Linked DNA regions of Homo sapiens: region 2 is linked to region 1. Evidence: promoter capture Hi-C in 16 types of primary human blood cells and fetal thymus (Javierre and others, 2016). All regions are on one chromosome and are shown on one strand. Each heading gives the region's core, a stretch centred on a gene start or on the middle of the fragment in contact. The rest is flanking DNA. Distances are from core to core; before and after follow the strand shown.

The links. Contacts are between HindIII fragments. The CHiCAGO score rates a contact against its expected background, and 5 or more counts as called.
Region 2: a fragment that was not itself captured here is called in contact with the fragment with the promoter of SYNCRIP in region 1 in 1 of 17 cell types (total CD4 T cells); the score reaches 5.1 in total CD4 T cells.

Annotation. Positions count from the first base shown.
Region 1 is chr6:85,640,571-85,645,625 of GRCh38, reverse strand. SYNCRIP (synaptotagmin binding cytoplasmic RNA interacting protein) reads left to right here and starts at 2,740. Exons shown (of 11, transcript NM_006372.5): 1 at 2,740-2,829; 2 at 4,175-4,334. The coding sequence starts at 4,187. RefSeq lists silencers at 1,661-2,680, 3,271-3,420, 3,641-3,690. The HindIII fragment of the contact is 3,992 bases long and covers 1,114-5,055 here.
Region 2 is chr6:136,278,828-136,283,882 of GRCh38, reverse strand. It overlaps BCLAF1 (BCL2 associated transcription factor 1), which reads left to right. Exons shown (of 13, transcript NM_014739.3): 2 at 1,196-1,299; 3 at 4,007-4,120. The coding sequence starts at 4,017. Among named protein-coding and RNA genes, the nearest start is that of BCLAF1, 8.5 kb to the left of the region's middle. The HindIII fragment of the contact is 1,644 bases long and covers 1,409-3,052 here.

The DNA of each region.
Region 1 (5,055 bases), core at 1,491-3,990:
TCAGGAGGCTATGCCATTAGTACAGGTGGTAGATGATGGTGGCTTTGCCTGGGTGGTTGCAACATAGAGATAAATGGAGATATATTTGGGAGACAGAATTGATAGGACTTGATTAACTGATATGGCAGTGTAGAGAAGGAAGTGCCTTGAATGATCCGCTCCAGCAATTCATGTGGGGGATGTTAATTGAGATGGGAACTCTGTAGACGGAAGACTGGGGGAAGATCACGTGCTCAGTTTCTTGAAATGCCCATCTGGAGTGCCAGAAAGCCCACATAAACATTGAGGGCGTGGCTAGAGAAAGGAATTAGATGTCAGAGAACAGCTAGAGATTTTAATTTGGGAGCTTTGCCCAGGTTAAGGCACTTTAAAAAATTTTTTTTAATACCCAGGAAGGTCTAAACAAAGTGTTACATGTTTCAGACTCATTTTTATTCTTTTTTTTTTTGAGACGGAGTCTCGCTCTGTCGTCCTGGCTGGAGTGCAGTGGCGCGATCTCCGCTCACTGCAAGCTCCGCCTCCCGGGTTAACGCCATTCTCCTGCCTCAGCCTCCAGGGTAGCTGGGACTACAGGCGCCCGCCACCACGCCTGGCTAATTTTTTTGTATTTTTAGTAGAGACGGGGTTTCACCGTGTTAGCCAGGATGGTCTCGATCTCCTGACCTTGTGATCCGCCCGCCTCGGCCTTCCAAAGTGCTGGGATTACAGGCGTGAGCCACCGCGCCCGGCCAATTTTTATTCTTGTTTAATCCATGGTATGACTCTTATTTTCATAGTTTTCTATTAAACATTTTGTTTTTCATGTATATCATTAACCACGACCTCTGCATTGTGAACAAAAATCCCTATGGCTGAAGCAGCTGAATATCACATATGTTTGATAGTAAGGAATCTGGGGTGGTGGAGATCTCAAATCCTTACTAAACAGGTTGGCTATGTGGTGCTTTGGCTAAAACATACTTCATATCTGATCCAAGTAGCTATGAAAATAATCTAGCATTTTATGTGCTTGTGCACTTTGAAGAGTGTTTATCTAACTTTTCCTCAAACCACTGATTTGTTATCATAGCACAGAGCTCATCTGGGGAACCAGTAAGCTCTTAAAAATAAGCTTTTTAATCAAAAGGACATTGTTTCTATTTTTCATTACAGCTGCCCTGGATAAAATTAGTATCCATATCGCGTCTGTAATTCAAATGCCTTTGTCTTGTCTTTCTTGTACCTAGTAAACGATTATAAAGGAAACGTCATTTCACAGAAGATTTAGTTGCCAAGGTTTTTTTTAAAAGAAACACAGACATTTTTCTCAAAGTTGTTCTAACCACGCAGCTTTGTGCTGTTTCAAGTTGCTCAAACTGTGCCAGGAGGAAGCCCTTAACTGCTTAAAAGGCCAGGGACTGAAACGGAGTATTGCACAACCCTTCACCACCGGGCGGTTTCGCTTCCAAATCTGGCCTTCGTGTCATCCCAAGGCAGGAGCCGCTCCTCGCTCCACTGGAGCCAGCCCCGTTCCCCCTTCAAAAGCAGCCGGGGTTTCCGCGTCCAAGCCTGGGGCGCCCCTCCCTTCGCCGAAGGTTCCCGTGAAAGCGGAGCCGCGCGGCTGCGAGGAGGGCCCACTGTCCAGTTGGGGAGATCGAGTCTCCAAGGGCGACTCTCGCACTCGAGTACCGCCAGTCCGGCGGACCAAAGGTCCGCGGGTCTCCGCGCCGCTCCCCTCCCCCTTGGCCCCATTGTCTGCCTCGCCCCGCCCCGGGGGACACGTGCGCCTGCAGCTTCCCGAGGAGGAGAGCGCGGGGCGGTGGCAGCGGCGTGGACACCGCCTGGAACGGCTACGCGGCCGCGGAGCCGGGGGCGGGGGCCGGGCGCGCACAGACCGGTGGGTGCCCTCCGGGAAGCGGCAGTCGCACTCAGCGCCCACAGCACTCTGCCCCGCCAGCCCCGGACCGGGCAGGGATGGGGCGGGCGGGAGCTCGGTGGGGGTGGCGTGCGCATGGTGTCGCGGGGAGGGGGTGGGGTGGGGCGGGGTGGGGAGATGCCAGTCTCCTGACAAAGGAAAACGAGTGGGACACGCTGAGCCGGCCCGCCCCGCCTGGAGGGGAGAGGGAGGGGGAGTGTCGGGAGGGGAAGGGGCGGGCCTTTCATTCAGTCTCGGCCCCTCGGCCGCCACCGTCGGAGCGGAAGGGCGGGGTCTTGTGCCTCCCCCACCCCCAACCCAAGGGGTGAGGAGCGGGGAAGGCGGCGCGGCGTGGGGGCGGAGCCCGCGGGCGCGCGTCCCGAGGCGTAGGCTACGTTGTCACGTCAGCGCGGGAGAGAGAAAGAGAGGAGCCGACTCGGCAGGGACTGGGGGACCGGGCCGAGAGTGCGAGCGAGCGAGGGAGGGAGTGAGGGAGCGTGCGAGCCAGAAGGGGAAAGGCGGCCACTCGTGCCTGAGCGACCGCAGAGGGGAGTGGGAGCAGTGGGGTAAAGGAGCGGGGGGCGGGAATAAGAAAGGCCGAGAGAAGGCGGACAGAGGCTAGTGGTGGTGGTGGTGGTAGGGGGAGAAGGAGGAGCTGGAGGAGGGCAGGGGCTGAGGGAGTGAGTGAAGCGGACGCGCGAGGGAGGGGAGGGAAGGGAAGGGAAGGGAAGGGGGGGTCACGCGGGGGCGCGCGCGCGCACCGGGAGCGCGCTCGGAGGCGAGTGGAACTGGATCGGGTTTGCTGCCAGCGGCGTGAGCTTCGGCCGCCATTTTACAACAGCTCCACTCGCGCCGGACACAGGGAGCAGCGAGCACGCGTTTCCCGCAACCCGATACCATCGGACAGGATTTCTCCGCCTCAGCCCAACGGGGAGGTAACGACTGCCAGAACCTGGGTGTGGGAGGGGAGCTCCATGACATTGTGGAGTGAGCTGGGGGAGGGTGGCGCGGGTAGAAACCGGCTTTTCTGGAAAATGGATTCCAATGGGGAGAAGAGCACGTTGACTGGGGCTGCCTGGGAGTAGGCCGCGGCCCGCGCCGCCACTTCCTCCTTTCCATGTGCTGCTGCGGTTCGGGCTTTGTCTGCGGCGCTTTGGGAGGAGGCGCCTCCACGGTCCCGTGGCCCGCACGGACCGCGAGCGGCTTCAGAGTTGGTGCTGTCGTGGCGGTCGCCGCGGCGCGGGAGTGGGCGGAGAGGAGTGGGTCTTGTCCTGCAGCCGTGCGGCGAGCTTGGGCGGTGCTCACGGTCCCGCGGGCGTTGAGCCGTCCGCTGAACGCCCTCACGCTGCTGGGTTGCCGGGCAGGCGTCGCAGTCACTGCACGGAAGGGTAAGGGGTGGGGACCTGCACAGCGCGCCACGGGTCACGTCTCGGCCGGGCGGGCGGCCGGGGGTCGTCGGCGCCCGGGGAGCGCCAGGGGCGGAGAGCCATGTGTCACGGCGGAGACGGCGGCGCTGGGGGGCGGGGAGAGCCTGTGGCCTGGCGCCGCCGGTGCCTCGGTGTTCAGGGGAGAGATTGTGCTGCTGCAGCTTTCTGGGGGCTCCGACCGCGGCTTCGGGTTGATGTTGGGAACCAGTGATGGTCGTCTTGGTTTGGGATTCGTTGGGTTGCCGTTGAAGGAAGTTGTAGGACATTGGAAGGCGCAGAGCACGTGTTTCTAATGGGCTCCTGGCGGCCGCAGTGGTGAGACTGCCGCTCTGGGTGCGGAGTCAGGGGCGGGCTTTGGGGTGCGGGGTTAAAGGGTGGAGAAATTGGGTGGTGGGAAGGTGGCTTGTATGAGCGCTTTGTTCTTCGCTGGCTGTTGTTACCGATCTATAAGCGGCAGGCGGGAAAAGCGCGCACTTTGGGGGTTTATCTTTGAGAGAGAGGAGCCCAGTTTTGCTTTCTCCACACACACCTCATTTTCCGAACGGGCACAGCTGCATGTGGCACGCTGGCTCGTACCCGTGCTGATTGGGCTCTATTTGTAATATGGTTTTTCCTAGGGAGTGTTAGCAGGTGAGTCAGGGGTGGTGCTGAGGAAGAATATGGTGAATCGGTCCTTCTGTGCCCTGTGCTCCAAATCTGGCTTGTCAGGCGATAGTGACTGTAAGGCTTTTTTAAAGGGAGGTATAGGCTAGCTGGTGTAGTAAATGGTAGAGAAAGTAAAGATGGGGCTCTCATATTGTCTTGTATTCTTTTTGAAGATCCTAGTTTAATTTTGCTTATTGCGTTTGAACAGATCTCTGGAAACATGGCTACAGAACATGTTAATGGAAATGGTACTGAAGAGCCCATGGATACTACTTCTGCAGTTATCCATTCAGAAAATTTTCAGACATTGCTTGATGCTGGTTTACCACAGAAAGTTGCTGAAAAACTAGATGAAATTTACGTTGCAGGTAAGAACTAACACTTGCAAAATTACATTATGAAATTTTTCTATTGGATTTCTGGCTTTGAGCTAAAATAGCAACTTTTTGTGGTTTCCAATAAGTGTGGGTACTGGAGTTTTGCTTGTTGTGATAGTTGGTTAATTTAAGTTTGAAGTAGAGGTTAAGATGTATAGAGGGAGGGAAGAAGAGAAGGTTAGGAGCTAAAGGCTGGCTTGCATGCTGGCCTGATGGATAAGTATATGATAGTAGCAACAGCTGCTAAATGTTGGGAACAGGCCATGTGACTTTTTTGAGTATTTTTATAGTAGGATTCTTCTTAAATAACTTGGTAACTGTAGACTTGTTTTCTTGTCTTTCTGGTGCGGCTGTTAACTTTTTCTGGTGGTATTTGAAATTGAGTAGAGGTTCAGTTGTCATGCTTGGTACTTTGTTGGTTGATTCTAGGATTCGTAAGTCTGTATACTGTAAAAATACCGTAGTGTTCAGAGTTATCAGACTTTGGAGATAAAAGATGTAAAAGAAGTTAGCTGATTATTGTAAGTGTGGTTGGTAGGGCATATTTAGTTCAGGATTCAGTTCAGAGTGGCTGAAGTGTGTGTTTTTTTTTTTTCAGGTATAGATGAGGGGAGTAGAAGAATTGTAAAGGCACACATGTACCTGTATTGCCAACATAGTCTTCTCTAAAAAATCTTTTCTAAAAATATTAAAAGCTGATAACTTTTATTTT
Region 2 (5,055 bases), core at 981-3,480, about 51 Mb before region 1:
ACCCAATCTTGCTTGGCTTTTTGACTTTGCTACTTTTTTAGTGTTTCCCTTAATAGGTTCCGATTCCTCCTTCCTAGGCTGAACCTCAAATCTCTCCCCAGTTGGAGGGCCATGGATATTTTAGGAGACGCTATTCTTGATTCACCAGTTTAATGTTACCATTTCTTCTTTGTATTTCCAGTCTCGTTTTATTTTTAAAATTGGATCTTGGTAAGAGTTACAGATTTCCATTTAAACTTGTTCATGAATTCTTTGAGTGCTGATGTATATTAATCTTGTATTCCTTAGTTTCTGTTCGCCTGGTGCTTTTGACTATCCTTTGCACATACTTGATGTGAATATACATAAAGCTAAACTTTTCAGTATTGGTAACTTGAATATTTTGTGCAAAGTTTATTTACAGATTAATGATAAATTATTTTAGGAAGAATATTGACTTTCAGTAGATAAAAGTTTCATTGCTGACTGTTCTTTTATTTGAATGTAGACGTATCAAGATGCTTTTAGGCACAGAATTTAAAGTTACTATGATGGCTGTTAACGTGGATTTAAAAATCAGTTTCACATGAAACTAAATTGTGTGAAAGGAAGTACCAAAAGAGAATAAGTAGCAGAGCATTAAACTCATATTTTAGATGTTATAAAGTAGAGCATTATGAAAATTAACTACAGATTACCTTTTTTTTTTTTTTTTTTTTTTTTTTGAGATGGGGTCGTGCTGTGTTGCCAAGGCTAGAGTGTGTTGCCAAGGCTAGTCACAGGTGTGATCACAGTGCATTGCAGTGTCAAACTCCTGGGCTCAAGTGATCCTTCTGCATCAGCCTCCCAAGTAGCTGGGACTACAGGCTTGTGCTACCTTGCCCCGCTACCAAGATGGCATTATGTTAGCTACGTTGGAATTTTCTGATGGAACGACATATCATATGTTTTTTAAGGCTCAAATTACTAAAATTAGAATTCAAGTAGTTAAAAAGATGCTGTCAGTTTCATGATACGCTACTGCATTGTGGTTTACAAAAAAGTTGAATTTTAAGCTTTTACGGTTAAAAGTTTCCTATTTCCTGAATTAGTTTTTCCTTCCCTGAAATTGTAAGTGCGTTTATTAGAGTTTATGGCAGTGCCCATTATATGCATTGTAAATAATGGTTATTTAATTTAACATAAATCACAATAATGGTTTTTTTGTCTTTGCTAGGAATTCGAATTTAGAGTTTAATTTCTCAGAGCATTCTCTCCAGGAAGAATTTTTACAGTATCTCAAAGACTTCACTTGACTTCTTGATCCTGCATAAAACCAAGGTAAAAGAGCATTCATTTTTCTAGTTTTCACTTTTGACTTTTTTGAGGAAATGTCACTACTGAATTGATGATTCAGATGGAGTGATTAAAAATGATGTGGTCCGAAGCTTTGTTTTTTGTTTATTTTGGTGGCTTGTATGAAGTAAGTCAGATGTTAAGTTAGTTTTAGGAAAAAGGTTCTTTTTCTGTCTTCTTCCAGGTTGTGCTCCTGCTTTTTCTATTTCTATAAACACATCTACTAAAAGACTCAGGACATACAAGATAGAAAGACTGCTACTTAACCCATTTCCCTAATGTAAACAAGAGGAGATTCATAACTTGTTTCTCTCTACTGTAGTGTTTAGGTAATTCAAATTGATTGCTAATGTGTTAGATGTATTAAGTGAATTAAGTTCATCAACTCATTAAGTCCACTACAAGTCTGTGAAGTAGGTACTGTTATTTTCTTCGTTTTACAGTTGAGGAACAGGCTCAGAGAGCTTAAGGAATTTGAATTCATGTAGTTTAAATGCAGAGACCATGTTCTTAGCTTTTTCCCTGTTTTTGCAGTAGAGCAGAAGATATCAATCCATTTCTTTTGGACTGCTAACTATTTGATAGGCATGCTTTCTTTCCGTTAGTTTTTGAAGTTTCAGGTGTAGCTTAAAGCAAAACGCAAACCTTTAAAAATGAACTTGCTGCTTTAAAAAATGTCCAGGTTCTGGGGAATGCATTCATTTTATAGTTATTTATTAAATACCTGTTGTGCTCGTGTGCCACAAGCCCAGCTACATCCTGGTGACTGAAAAAGCCTACAGAATTCCTGAATCCTTTAACAGAAATTACCATCCAAAAAGCCTCAAGAGCAAAGAACAGAGATTCTGGAGATACAGCACAACACAGCATCTGTAGCTCTTAGTAAAATAGTGTTTTATTTACTGATTAGTACAATGAAAAAGGATGTTGTCTTATTGCTGGACTGGATCTCCAAAATCATTTGCAGCTCTGGTTTCTTTTTATAGTGTGTCTGATTATCTCAGAGTGGGATAAAAATAAATATCTTGAAGTAAATTCGATCAGAATGAATGTAAATTACGTATTTATATTCTTTTAAAAACTTTGGGAGGGACAGAATTTTGAAATCAGATGCAAGAGAATGTCACAGTTCCCCGTGGCCAAGATTCCTTCCTTTACAGGCTGTAAATGTGGTTTTTGCCAATTTCATTATGTTGTCAAAACTACAGTTGCTAAACCAAATTTGTGTTCTACAAGGTGTCAGATCTCCTTATGTTAATGCTAAATTTATTTCTTATGTGTTGTGGAATTCTTACTTTGCCTTTTTGAACCCTGAACCTATGTTTTGTTTCTGTCTTTATGTATTTCTTGCTTACTTGGGATTGAGAAGAAGAGTGAGAGAAGACAAAGGTGGTAGTCTATTAGAGGATAGTTATGTTTTATTTTGAAATAAGCATTTATCTCAAACATCTTGAATTTGTTATTTATATTGCTTGATGAGGAACTATCCAAGTATTACCATTACTTCTTCTATAACTGAACTCATCTTAGTACCTCCAAATACTATTTTATTATACCGAACAAAGTCTAGGTAGGTAAAAAAGTGCCTTCAAAAATACTTGGTTGTAGGAGATACTATTTAAGTATTATGGGAATTGCAAGGTGTTAGAAGTTTAGTAAGTTGATTTTTATTGAAATGAATACTTTTTGAGTAAGTTAGTGTAAATTTGGAAATAGTTCTATGCAGCAAAAACAAGCTTGAGAGGCTAAGATATAATCTAATCATTGAAAAGTTGAAAATGTGACATTTGGGATATGCATGCAGTGATTTGCTATATGTGTATGTTTTTTCAATTAGTAGATCTTATAAATCAATTAGTTTTGACAGTTACTGATTTCTGTACCCAATGAGGTCTAATTATAGCATTGGATACCATGTAGTGTTTAGAAAAGTTAAACTACTGGTGCCCAAGTTTTTTTTTTCTTGTAGTTCTAATAAATCTTTCTTGAAGTAATCCCTCCAATTCTTTATCTTTTATTCTTTTTAAATCTTCTTAACAGAAAGCTTCAGGGTGAACTAGGCATTGTCACATAAGTCCACTTTATTCTGGAGTCATGAGTACTGAGAGCAGAGCCATGGCTCCAGCTGTTTAGAAACTTAGTGTCCTGTATTGTTCTAGGATACTATCTAGTACCACTCCAGACAGGATTGTGTATATGGAGTGGTCAGTTCAGTCTCATTTTCAAGGCCATAAAGCACTATGATAACAGCCTGGTAGGTTTATTTTTTGTTAGTATTGTGACACTTTATTTTATTTCAGTTGCCTTATCTGTAGTACCTTTATTATTTATCTTTCTTACAGGAGGGGTAGGCATTTGTATTGGGCGTGGAATAACACATAACATGCTGCTGCAGTCTCATTGCTTTTTCTGGCTTCTGCAGCTGCTGCCTTTTAGGATTGAGGCTCATAAGTGGGGCAGTCCGTAAAAATCTTCAGTTGTGTCTTTAATCGACAGTACCTGTCATGCAGGTGAAAACAGTTTTAGTCAGGGATAATTGACTTGTCTTCTGAATACTGATTTGAAAAGGATGGTGAATAATAGCCTTTGAGAAACTTGTAAAAATCAAATTTTATCTGAAAATAAGTAATAATGTAAAATTTTAAATATCATATTGTAATTTTAACCTTTTTTTGCCCTATCATTTGATTAGGAGAAAAGAAATGGGTCGCTCCAATTCTAGATCACATTCTTCAAGGTCAAAGTCTAGATCACAGTCTAGTTCTCGATCAAGATCAAGATCTCATTCTAGAAAGAAGCGATACAGGTGATTTAATGTGCTTTAAATTTTTAAAATAATTATATCAGTTAATACTTGTTGAATGAGTATCGTAAACACAGTGCTAAACCCCAAAATGTATTTTATTCTCAAAGAACCCTGTGAAATGGATCTATTGTTATCCTTATTGTAAGCGAGAAAATGAGAATGTCCAGGTAACAAGCTCTAGTAAATGGCAGAGCTTGGATTGAAATCCAGTTAGTCTGACTCCAGGTCTCAAATTTTACTGTATAATGTATGGTAGGTTTCTTTGTATTTGTCCACAATGTTAAGAGATGAATTGGGTAATGCAAGAATTTGACAGTAAACAATCTCTGCATATTGTTTTATAGTTTCTCATTTCTGACTGTGAATCTTTGAATTCTAACAAAATAATTTTTTTTGTTAAAAAAATTAACAACTCTGGTTATTTTTGTTAAAATAGTAATACATACTTAGCATAGAAAACAGAAACCAGAAGTTGAAAATACAAATGACCATAATACCATTAAGAATTAATAGTAGTTGATGCTCATTCTTTTTCCCCCACCAGGCTTAACTTTATATTATGTATGTATTTAATTAATAGTATCTCACTGATAGTTTTTTGTAATCTTTTCCCCCATTTAACTATATATTATGCCATGCCATTAAATATTCTTTTACAACATCAATTTAAGTGCTTGCCTAGAGGTACTACAATTTGCTAATATGTCCTAATGCATGTGATATATATAACACATGCGTGTGTGTGTGTGTGTGTGTGTGTGTGTGTGTTTTGTGCCTTCATTTGTAAGGTCTTTAAGGTATTCTCTCAGTATTTACCTTAGTGAGGCTTTTTGATTGGAAACCATTAACTTTTGTACAGATGAGTTTTTTAAAAAAGTGTATTTTTGCCTTTACTGTTTATTTACATGTTATATTCAACCAGAGTATTTAGAATG